Regions from separate parts of the Homo sapiens genome. Here all the other regions are linked to region 1. Evidence: promoter capture Hi-C in 16 types of primary human blood cells and fetal thymus (Javierre and others, 2016). All regions are on one chromosome and are shown on one strand. The core of a region is centred on a gene start or on the middle of the fragment in contact, and the rest is flanking DNA. Distances in the headings are between cores, read along the strand shown. Region 1 holds the start of SHISA7 (shisa family member 7). Region 2 holds the start of MIR6802 (microRNA 6802). Region 3 overlaps ZNF784 (zinc finger protein 784). Region 4 holds the start of BRSK1 (BR serine/threonine kinase 1).

Region 1 (2,768 bases), core at 182-2,681:
AGTCAGGCTTTTCCACCAGGGCAGAGACCTTGTTTTGTTCACTGGTGTATCCCCAGCTCCTGGCCCACAGAAGGTGCTCAAGAAATATGTGTCGAATGAATGAGAGTCTGGGCTTCTCCCTCTCCCTGCATCACTCCGCAACAGCCGGGCCGGCTCTGGCGCGACTTTCTCAGCCCCTGCCCACCTTCAGCTACGCCGGCGGCCGCCACCTGGGTCTCTGACCACCACGCCCTATCCCTGCAGCCCCTCCTCCTCGGATGGCTCCACCTCCCTTGCTGGGCCCCGCCCCAGGCTCGCAGTCCTCCCGCCCGAGAGCACACGCACCTGGGCACGTTGATATCCCGGTGCGCCCGGGGCGCACGGGACGCCTTGCTGAAGGCCACTTTGGCGCCGACGCCCACGGCCAGGGCGAAGCTGATGACCCCGCACACGACGTAGGCTGTGCTGCCCCCGGGGCCCTCGCCCCCGCGGCCCCCGGCACCCCCAGTCCGGCCCCCTTCCAACCACCCGGCCTGGCCGGGCCCTGGCCCCCCGCCCGCACCCCCAGCGCCCCCGGCGCCCCCAGCTAGCGGCGGCGGCGTGGTGGCCCAGCGCGGCGTGTCGTAGTTGGAGCAGGAGGCCTGCGCCAGGCGCATGTGACGGTGCTCACAGCAGAAGCGGTAGTGGCAGGTGCCACAGCAGAAGCGGTAGGAGCCGGTGCTGCAGTTGAAGGTGGCGTCGTACTGGCCCATGACATCGTAGTAGCCGTGGCAGAGCTCGGCGGGAGGGGGCGCCCGGGCCGCCGCGCCCGCCCCGCCCGCGGGGCCGGTCCTGGTGCCGTTGGCGCCTGGGCTCGCCGCGCCCCCGCCGCCCGTCAGCGCCCCGGTCAGGCGCCGCAGGTGCGCCAGCAGGGCGGGCAGCGGGCCCGCGGGCTCGGCGCTCGTGGCGTTGGACGGGCGCGCCCTGGCCTGGCCGGCGCTAGAGGCCAGGAGTACGAGGAGCAGGAGGGCCGGCATGGGGCTTGCAGGGGGTCGCACTGGGCCGCCAGGCTGCGGGGAGAACGAGAGCAGAGGTTGGAGCGCTGGGCGGGAGAGAAACGGTCAGAGGGTGAGAAACGTAGAGATGGGTGGGCAGAGAGGCTGGGGAGGGCGGGCGGGGGGCGGCAGAGTGTGGGGAGCAACAGGCGCCAGGAGGCAGGAAGGGCGGAGGGAGCTGAGCTGCGTGGGCCCAAGTTGGCCGCCCCACGCGCGGTGGGCGACGATGGGAGAGTAATGGAAACGCGCCCGGGCACGGCTGGGGGAGAGAAATGAGCATGGGCGGACAGAACCGGGATCAGGCGAGAGATGAATGCGGGAGAAGCGATTGGGAGGGTCGACAGACACCAGAGGGGTGTGCAGACATTAGGACGAGGAGCGAGGCGAGGCGCGATGTAAGGAGAAGAAACGGGGGCGGCGAAGAGGAGAGGGCAGGGGAGGCAGCTGGAGGGAGGCGCGCGAAGGGGAGGGGAGGGTGGCGAGGGGAGTGGGGACCGCGGAGGGAGGGAAGGAAGCGAGACAGATGAGGGGTGGGTGGGAAAGGAGGAGTCAGGGAGACGGGGAAGGAGGGAGAAAAGAAGGGGAGGAGGAGGAGGGGGAGGAGAGGGAGGGAGGAGGAGAGAGAGAAGTTGAGAATTTGAGTTTATAGACCAGGCAAGTGGGAAGAGGCAGTGCACGGTTTTTCAACACTGACATTCGGGGACCGATGCTGCTTTGTGGTGAGCGCCTGTCCTGAGCGCTGTAGGATGTTTAGCAGCGCCCTCTCCATGCCAGCAGCACCACATTCCCCCGAGTTGTGACAATGTAAGATGTTTCCAGGCATTGCCAAATGTTCCCCTGGTGGGAGGAGGCCACAGCTGCCCCCGTGGAGAACCACTGACTTACACCCCTATGGTCCTCAGTGCCCCGAAATGCCAATTTCTCTCCCTTAGTTAGATCTGATAATCAAGGGATCTTAGGTGCCCTCCCTCCCTCCCTCTCTCTCCCTCTCTCTCTCTCTCTCCCTGGCATGCACACGCACACACACACCACTGTTACGGCGTCGGGTTTGAAGGGTCTCTGTCCACAGCTGAACCACAACCACAGCAGGGTGGTTCCCCTGCCGACTGGACCTCCTGCCAGCTGCCTGACACTGACAGGCTCTTATCTAAGCTCCCTGTGCCCCAAGTCCCCCATCTGTAAAATGGGGATAAGGATGGTTATCTCTGAGTGGTCAGGAGGATGAACTGAGGGAATATGTGTAAAGAGCTTAGAACAGTGCCTGGCATATTGCAGGTGAAATATGAAAGTGTTTGCTGCTGCTGCTATTTCAGAAGGGAGATACAGGCTGAGAAAGGGTCGTCCGGGTGCGGCGGCTCACGCCTGTAAATCCCAGCACTCTGGGAGGCCAAGGTGGGCAAATTGCTCAAGCAGGAGACCAGCCAGCCTCGCCAACACAGCAAAACCGTGTCTTTACAAAAAAAAAAAAAAAAAAAATTAGCCCGGCGTGGTCGTGCGCACCTATAGTCCCAGGTACTCAGGACGCTGAGGTGGGAGGATAACTTGAGTCCCAGAGATCAAGGCTGCTGGGAGCTGTGATTTCACCACCGCACTCCAGCCTGAGTTGACAGAGTGAGACCCTGTCTCAAAAGAGAGAGAAAAGGTGATGCAGAAGAGAGGTGGGAGTTGGTGGTGGTGGTGGTGGGCACGTCTTCCAGCTGTTTCTATGGCAACAGTCCAGCCAAGTCCCAGACACGCCCACCCCCGTGGACCTAG
Region 2 (2,768 bases), core at 144-2,643, 200 kb before region 1:
TGGTAATTGGAAAAAAAAAGTTTTGTTACCCCGAGGCCTGTGGAGGGGAAAACTGGACCCCCATGTCTGGCAGACTCCTGAGCCAGAGGGCATCCATGGAGGTGCAGCTCTGCCCCACAGTCCCTGCGCCAGGACTGCTGGTCCCCACTACCCTGAGCCCCTCCCGCCTGGAACCCCTAAGGCTAGCTCCAGGAGTGGGAGGGACCCGCTCTGTGTCCCCAGCACAGAAGATGTTTGTGCCCCACCCTCATGGCCTGCCTCTCGGAGAGAAGAGACTGCAGAGCTGGAACTCATGTAACAGGAGGCAGACACACGAGGCTGCAGACACACACACAAGGCCACGGCCAACGCGTGCCCAGGAGGGGCCACAGCTGCAGGCTGAGCCCACAGGGCATGTAGGTGCGTGCAGGGGACAGATACAAGTAGGCGCGCCTGCTGCTGCAGAGGCAGGACAGGGCTGTGACCCTGCGCAGGAGACACTCACTTCACACTCTCCTCCTGCTCCCCAAACTCCTCATCATTGAAGCCGAAGTGGTCAATGAAGGCAGAGGTCATGCGCTGCATCTGGAAGTCCATGAAGGCCTGTGGGGGTGCGGAGGTTAGGGCTGGAGGGAGTTGGGCAGGACCCCACTCCAGCATAGCCCAGCACAGCCCCACATAGCCCCACGCCCACCTGCTGCAGCACAGCCTCCTCAGGGAAGTTGAACTCCTTGAGCCGGTCGTCCTCATCGTCACTGGAGGAGTGTAGGTGGTGGGTGTTCACCTGGGGAGAGGAGGGGGCGTCAGGGCCTGCTGGAGCCCCCAGACCAGGGTGGGCAGGCAGCTATCGGTGGCGGTGGGAGGCTAAGACTGGCCCAAGAGAGAGAAGCAGCAGGAGGAGTGCAGGAAGAGAAGCTGGGCCTCACCAGGTCCACCATGTTCTTCTTGTTGGTCTCCGCCAGGGGCCCCGATACGAAGGCTTCCCACTGCTCCTGCTGCTCGCTGGGCAGCTCTGCTTAGGTGAGAGGGGTGAAGACGTGAGGCATCTCGGGGCTTCAAGCCCCCCACCTAGCCCTCAGGCCGGCCTGGGGACCCTCACCCTTCAGCAGCTGCCGCAGCTGCTCTGCATTGGGCCCCTTCTCCGTGTTCTGCACCAGGGCACCGGCCACTCTTGTCAGGTGACCCATGTAGCCTTTCCGAGGGCCTCCCGCACACCTGGCAAGAGTGAAGGCCGCGGCTGCAAGCCAGGACTGGACCCAGGGATGCCCAGCCCCAGCCCGGCCCCCCATCCAGGCAGCCCCAGCCCCTGGAGACATGAAGGGCAGCAGGTGCTCACTGTACACGGTCGTTCTCCTCCCAGGACGTCAGGATCCGCTCCACCAGGCGGCACTGCTGCAGCAGCTGCGGGAGAGCGGGACAGGATGGCCTGGAGGGGTGGTCTGCACACATGTGGGGAGCTCTGCACTGCAGCAGGGGTCCCTTCCTCAGCAGATGCTTCACCAGGCCCCCGCTCATCCAGAGACGGGGATGGGAAGGAGGGATGCAAGCTGGGGCTTGGGACCCTGGCATCCACCCAAGTCTCTCTGGTCTTTCTACAAAAGAATATGTGGTGCATACACACACACACACACACACACACACACACACACACACACACATGCATGCACTAACGGACACACACATGCTCACACATACATGTTCACATACTCGTGTGCACTCACACACATACATGCTCTCACACACGCTTGCACTGACACATGCTCACACACGCACGTGTGCGCACTCATGCACACTCAGCTGCTCGCAGGTCTGCTCCCGCCCACCCCTAGCTCTTCAGCTCAAGTCAGGAGCCCACTGCTCCCTGCACCTGCATGTTTCATCCGCGTTTCTCCCTGGCCATGCCTCCCACACCCCATCTGGGCGCTGGCACCTAACACTACCCAACAAACACTTGTGGGAGGAAGGAGTGAGGGGTAGGCCTCTGGAGAGGGTGCGCCCACAGGGGATGGGCCCAGAAGGAGGGGGACCAGGGAGTCCCAGCTCACATGTTTCACAACAGGGTTTTGGATGGGCGTCTCAGGGCTGCTGTCAGGAGGTGGCCCCAAGCTCAGCATGGTGCTCACGCATCCCTCTACTTGGGCATGCAAGAAGTTGTTGAAGACATAATGGAAGAAGAGGTCCTATGGGAGGACACAGGATTGGTACCAGAGAGGCCCCGCCCCAGCCGAGCCCCCAACCCCTGAGCCCCCAGCCGAGCCCCCACCCCAGCCCCCGAACCCTCAGCCCAGTCCAGTCCCCGCCCCAGCCCCTGAACCCCCAGCCCGGTCCAGTCCCCGCACCAGCATGGTGTTGGGCACGTCCAGTGCCAGGAGCTCGTGCGTCAGGGCTGCATCATTGGCGCTCAGGGCACTGGCCAGGAGCTTGACCACGTGCAGCCGCGTGTTGCCCAGAGGCGGAGCCAGCATGCCCCATGTCATCTGTAGCGGCTCCAGCTGCAGACACAGGGAGGCCTGATTCCCAAGGGCTGCCCTTCCTGCTTCCCCCGCCTCCCCGAGGACCAGAACCCACACCCCTGACCTTGGGAGGCTCCAGCAGGAGCTGGTGGAAGCAGCTGAGCCGCGGGCGTAGGGCGTGCAAGGCGCCCACACTGGACACAGTGCTTTCCAGGGCCCCCTGGGCCAGGAGCTCCAGCTGCCCATCCACACTGCTGAAGAAGCTGTTCACGGTCACGGACTCGGACCTGCAGCAGGGCAGGGTCGAAGGCGGAGTGAGCCTAGATGGCCTGTGCG
Region 3 (2,768 bases), core at 177-2,676, 180 kb after region 1:
AAGGCGAGCAGATCACCTGAGGTCAGGAGTTCGAGACCAGTCTGGCCAACATGGTGAACCATCCTTTCTACTAAAAGTACAAAAATTAGCTGGGCGTGATGGCAGGTGCCTGTAATCCCAGCTACTCGGGAGGCTGAGGCAGGAGAATCACTTGAACCCAGGAGGTGGAGGTTGCAGTGAGCTGAGATTGCGCCACTGCACTCCGGCCTAGGCGACAAGAGCGAGATTCCATCTCAAAAAAAAAAAAAAAAAAAAAAAAGGAAAAAAAGAAACTTGAAGATGAAACTAGGTAAGAGCGCTGCTTGGGTGAGTCCTGTGTGACCCATGGGAGAGCAGCTACCCTGTGTGGCTCCATGTTCTAATGCTGAAGACCCAGCATGAGACAGACGTTGTGCCAGTGCCCCCAGGGTTCAGGGTTCAGCAGTAACATGGAAATGGAGCCTCACAGTGTAAGGGACTTGGAAGTATCACTAGGGCTTGAGGGAGCACAGAGGAGTCACCTGTCAGAGTGGAAGGGGGGCTAGAAAAGCTTCTTGGGGAGAAGGTGATCCCTGAACGATGACATAAACCAACTGGAGTTTTCCAGGTAAAGAAGTGGCAAAGAGGCCGGGCACGGTGGCTCATGCCTGTAATCCTAGCACTTTGGGAGGCCGAGGCAGGTGGATCACGAGGTCAGGAGCTCCAGACCATCCTGGCTAACACGGTGAAACCCTGTCTCTACTAAAAATACAAAAAATCAGCCGGGTGTGGTGGTGGGAGCAGGTGGCAGGCGCCTGTAGTCCCAGCTACACGGGAGGCTGAGGCAGGAGAATGGCATGAACCCAGAAGGCGGAGCTTGCAGTGAGCCGAGATCATGCCACTGCACTCCATCCTGGGCGACAGAGCAAGGCTCTGTCTCAAAAAAATAAATAAATAAGAAAAAAAAAAAAAAAAAGAAGTGGCAAAGATTTCCAGGCGGAGAGTTTAGTGTGTTGAACTAAACCCTGCTATTCTGGAGCATTTAAGACAGATTAGTATGGCTGGAGGTTGGGTTCCTGGGGGCTAAACCCTGAAGGGTCTTGAATTCCAAACTGTGGGGCTTGGGTGATTTTATAGGCTAGAGGCTGGAAACTGGCAGCTGCAAGGCCGAATATGACCACTAACACATTTTTGTTTAGTCTGTGCATTTTTTAAAAAGTTTGACTTGACTGCCAACATTGGGAAATCAAAAGATTTTACATAATGTGAACTAATGGAACTTCTGAAAGAAACTGGAAGATGTGGCAACCCAATCTGTGTTCCGGAGCTGAGCAGCCATTACCCTCTTCTGAAGAGGCACTCTCCAATTTGTTGAATACCAATTCTGAGACCTGGTGGCAATCGCCATTATTTCATGTTGCTGATATTTTCCCCTTGAACCTGGCCGTCTTGCTCGTGTATTTACATTTTCACCCAGCTCCTGTAGGCATTCACATTTCCAAATCGTCTCAAAGCCACAAGGAGCTGTGTCTTGGTGACAAGGATCTGCATGGATGCCATATGGAGAATGAAGAGGGCAGGTGGCCGGGTGCAGTGGCTCACGCCTGTAATCCCAACACTTTGGGAGGCCGAGGCGAGTAGATCACCTGAGGTAAGGAATTTGAGACCAGCCTGGCCAACATGATGAAACCCCATCTCTACTAAAAATACAAAAATGAACTGAGCGTGATGGCGCCCACCTGTAATCCTAGCTACTCAGGAGGCTGAGGCAGAAGTGCTTGAATCCAGGAGGCAGAGGTTGCAGTGAGCAGAGATTGTGCCATTGGACTCCAGCCTGGGCAACAAGAGCAAAACTCCATCTCAAAAAAAAAAAAAAAAAAAAAAAAAAAAAAAAAAAAAAAAAAAAATGCAGGCACTGGACTGCTGTGCAGTTGTCTGTGTGTGAGACCACTGTTGGTCTACAAGTGTAGTGATGCCGAAAACACGTTCCAGTTCCAAAGATATTAACTGGCTCAACTGAGGGAAACTGATAAGGGACTGGACATAAGAATGAGGATGAAGAAGGTTTAAACCTGCCCAGGTATCCAGCTTGGGTGGTGGTGCCAATGACATCAGAAGCATGGAGGTTTCTTTGAGGAAAATGGAATGAGTTCTGTTCACATTGTGAGTTGCCTGTGAGTTATCTCATGGGGCCCACTGGGTGAACAGAAAGGTGTGCAAATCAGAGGCTCTCACTCAACAAGCATGCAAAGCATGTTGAGTGTGCTTTTGCCAAACTTCCCTGACCCCCCTCTCCTACAGCTGAACCACATAACACGTAACCACAGTGGGGCCTACTCACCCCCCATTCTGATGATGGGGAAACAGAAGCTTGGAGGAAGAGATGATGCAACTGACTGCTGGTGGCAAAACCATGGTGAGGCCCCTCCTCCCCCAACTCCCCAAAGCGGACAATCCGAATACAAGACCGACAGAGAAGCCCTTCAGAAGGTCCTTTAATAGGAACAGAACTGAAGGTGTCACACCTCCAGCTCCCAAGTCCTCCTCTCGCCCCCACCACAGTGACTCTTTCACTCCACACCCAGGCCAGCCCACCATGCTGCCATCAGCCAGCCCGCCCTTGGGATTGGCGGGGACTAGGCAGTAAGCTGTTTGCTTCGAACTGGGAGTGGAGGAAATTAGAGAAACCTGAGGCTACCTTGAGGCTTGTGGGGGACCCTGGGCTCTGAGTCTAAAGCTTTAGGAGGGGGATGCTAGGTAGCTGCTTGCTTTATGTGTTCTCAGTTGCCTCCGAAGAAGAGTGGATGGGT
Region 4 (2,768 bases), core at 72-2,571, 160 kb before region 1:
TTAAAGATGTGTGGACTCAAGGTGTTGAATGGGGGACTGGGAAATCTCACAGGAGCCAATAGGCTCCTGTGTGCACTTTATTTTATTTTATTTTTGTTAGAGACAGGGCCTCACTCTGTTGCTCAGGCTGGAGTGCAGTGGTGCAAACGTAGCTCACTGCAGCCTAGAACTCACTGACTCAAGCCTCAGCCTCCCAAGTAGCTGGGACTACAGGCACATGCCACCATGCCCGGCTAATTTTTAAAAAAATTTTTGTAGGGATGGGGTCTCACTGTGTTGCCCAGGCTGATCTTCCCACCTCTGTCTCCCAAAGTATTGGGATTACAGGCATGAGCCACCTTGCCCAGCCCTGGGTGTGCTTTACAGGGGACTTGAGAATTAAATGGGTGTCTAACACTTGCGGGTACATGACATAGAGGGATCTATGGTTTATGCGGAAAGCTAATGGGGGCAGGCGGGTTACTCACAGGCAGAGCACATGCTTGTGGACCTGCTACAGTGGGGATGTATGGGCTGTACTGGGGTCCACATGAAGATATAAAGGACCCTATGACGAGCACAGAGAATATATGGGGGTCTAAAAACATAACACAGGGAAACTGAGGGGGTTCTGGAAGCTTCTCTGTAAAGAGAATCCAAAATCACTCTGGGCTGTGGGTAGATATGGGGCCTTGACATTGGTGGGGACACAGACTTACCCTTACCCTGAATGGGTGGCCTTAGGGGGCTGGGGAAACAGACATGAATTTTGGGTCAGCAACTCCAAGAATTCTTTCCCCTCTCTGTCTCTGTCTCCCTCCATATGTCCCCACCTCTCCCCAGCACGTGTCCCTCCACCTGTGTGTACCCCCGGCCCTCTCTACAGCTCCATCTGCGCCCCCTCTCCCCCACCTCTCTGGTTGGTCTTCCTCTCTCTGTCTCTCTGAATCTCTGACTCTCTCCATCCCTCTGTCGGCTTCCAGCAGCTTTCTCTCCCTCTCCCTGTCTGTTTTCCCGGCTTGCCATTCCTTCCTTCTCTTCTGTCCCTGTCCATCTCTGCCCTTCCTCCCTCTCTGCCTCAGCCTGTCTCTGGTGGTCTCCATCCCTCTGGCGTCTCTGCCTGTCTCCCGTCTCTGTGTCAGCCAGCATCTCTCTTTGTGTATCTCCATCTCTGCCCCATCTGTTGGGTCCTCTCTCTCTCTCTCCATCCTTCCCTCCATCCTCTCTCCTGCATCCTCCCACCTCCTCTCCATCCCTCCAGCTGGAGGCCCGCCCCCTGCCCCCCCTCGCTCCCCCTCCCCCCTCCGAAAGGGTTAACTTTGGGGAAGGGCCCGGAGTCCCCGGATGGTGATGTCAGCGTGCCGGAGAGAAAGGACGAGGTGGCGGGGGGAGGCGGAGAGGAGGAGGAGGCGGAGGAGAGAGGGCGCGTGGGGGGGCGGGGGGGACCTCGGCCTGCAGCATCCGCCGGCCCGCACCTCAGACCCCCCCGGCGGGGGGAGGCGCAGGAAGCGGGGGGCCGGCCAGAAACGGGCTGGGGAGGGGGGGCCCCGCAGCCCCCCTGGGCCATGCTGACTCCCGGGGCCTGACCCCCCCGGGCCAGCCCCCCCTCCCCCAGCTCCGCGGCCCGCCGACTGGGGGGGGCCAGCCCAGCCCCCTGGGGACCCCCGGAGAGGTGGGGGGCAGCCGGGGGGGCCGGGACGGAGCGGTCGCCGGCCCCCACCGGAGAGACGGGGCGACGGCCGCAGGGGGGGCGGCCGGGGGACCGGTCGGGCCGGGACCAAGGGCACCATGTCGTCCGGGGCCAAGGAGGGAGGTGGGGGCTCTCCCGCCTACCACCTCCCCCACCCCCACCCCCACCCACCCCAGCACGCCCAATATGTGGGCCCCTATCGGCTGGAGAAGACGCTGGGCAAAGGACAGACAGGTGAGCCTAGCAGAAGGGGACACCTGGGGCGGGGGGCAGGGTGGAGGTGGCGGCAGAGGCGGGACTCAGGGTATTCAAATGGCAGGGGCTGGCTGCCCAGACCCCTGGGCCCCTCATAGAGAAGGGACTTGGGATTCAGACTCCTGGGTCCCTGGATGGAGGGGGTGGGGGGCGCAGACTCAGGTCCTGGAGGAGAGGGGCTGGGGGCCTGGACTCCTGGGTCTGAGGGAGGAGGGGCTGGGCACTGGACTCCTAGGTCTGAGGGAGGAGGGCCTGGGGGCCTGGACTCCTGGGTTTCAGGGAGGAGGGCCTGGGGGTCTGGACTCCTGGGTTTCAGGGAGGAGGGGCTGTGCTTGGACTCCGGAGTCTGAGGGAGGAGAGGCTGGTGGCCTGCACTCCTGGGTCTGAAGGAGAAGGGCTTGGGGGCCTGGACTCCAGGGTCTGAGGGAGGAGGGGCTGGGGGTCTGGACTTCTGGGTCTGAGGGAGGAGGGGACTGGGGTCCTGGACTTTTGGGTTTGAGGGAGGAGGGACTGCGGTCCTGGACTTTCAGGTCTGAGGGAGGAGGGCCTGGGGGCCTGGACTCCTGAGTATGAAGGAAGAGGGTCTGGGGTCTGGACTCCTGGGTCTGAGGGAGGAGGGGCAGGGGTGCTGAACTCCTGGGTCTGAAGGAGGAGGGGCTGGGGGCCTGGACTCCTGAGTCTGAGGGAGGAGGGCGGTCGGAACCTTGAGTGTTGGGACAGGGAGTTTGGGGCCCCAGTGCTCCAGTCCCCATAGGGGCAGAGGCTGGAGGGGCTCCAGGGCCAGGGAGGGGATGGAGGCGGCCTGCAGAGTGGGGCCGGGCTGGGACCTGAGGTTCTTGCTGCA

Evidence for each region. The method cuts DNA at HindIII sites, captures the fragments that hold promoters and counts their contacts. A CHiCAGO score of 5 or more calls a contact.
Region 2: a contact is called between a fragment that was not itself captured here and the fragment with the promoter of SHISA7 in region 1, in 4 of 17 cell types (activated CD4 T cells, M1 macrophages, erythroblasts and 1 more). The highest score is 7.7, in activated CD4 T cells.
Region 3: a contact is called between a fragment that was not itself captured here and the fragment with the promoter of SHISA7 in region 1, in 3 of 17 cell types (non-activated CD4 T cells, total CD8 T cells and naive CD8 T cells). The highest score is 5.7, in non-activated CD4 T cells.
Region 4: a contact is called between the fragment with the promoter of BRSK1 here and the fragment with the promoter of SHISA7 in region 1, in 13 of 17 cell types (M1 macrophages, M2 macrophages, M0 macrophages and 10 more). The highest score is 11.7, in M1 macrophages.

Annotation. Positions count from the first base shown.
Region 1 is chr19:55,441,869-55,444,636 of GRCh38, forward strand. It overlaps SHISA7 (shisa family member 7), which reads right to left and starts at 1,432. Exons shown (of 4, transcript NM_001145176.2): 1 at 325-1,432. The coding sequence starts at 995. RefSeq lists an enhancer at 124-752 and a silencer at 246-335. The HindIII fragment of the contact is 48,275 bases long and covers 1-2,768 here.
Region 2 is chr19:55,238,921-55,241,688 of GRCh38, forward strand. PPP6R1 (protein phosphatase 6 regulatory subunit 1) reads right to left here. Exons shown (of 24, transcript NM_014931.4): 8 at 2,557-2,719; 9 at 2,319-2,471; 10 at 2,025-2,159; 11 at 1,316-1,380; 12 at 1,079-1,194; 13 at 906-991; 14 at 674-763; 15 at 485-582. MIR6802 (microRNA 6802) reads right to left here and starts at 1,056; the gene lies at 992-1,056. The HindIII fragment of the contact is 7,408 bases long and covers 1-2,768 here.
Region 3 is chr19:55,618,305-55,621,072 of GRCh38, forward strand. ZNF784 (zinc finger protein 784) reads right to left here. Exons shown (of 2, transcript NM_203374.2): 2 at 2,437-2,768. Among named protein-coding and RNA genes, the nearest start is that of ZNF784, 4.9 kb to the right of the region's middle. The HindIII fragment of the contact is 1,799 bases long and covers 528-2,326 here.
Region 4 is chr19:55,282,676-55,285,443 of GRCh38, forward strand. It overlaps BRSK1 (BR serine/threonine kinase 1), which reads left to right and starts at 1,322. Exons shown (of 19, transcript NM_032430.2): 1 at 1,322-1,903. The coding sequence starts at 1,768. The HindIII fragment of the contact is 8,428 bases long and covers 616-2,768 here.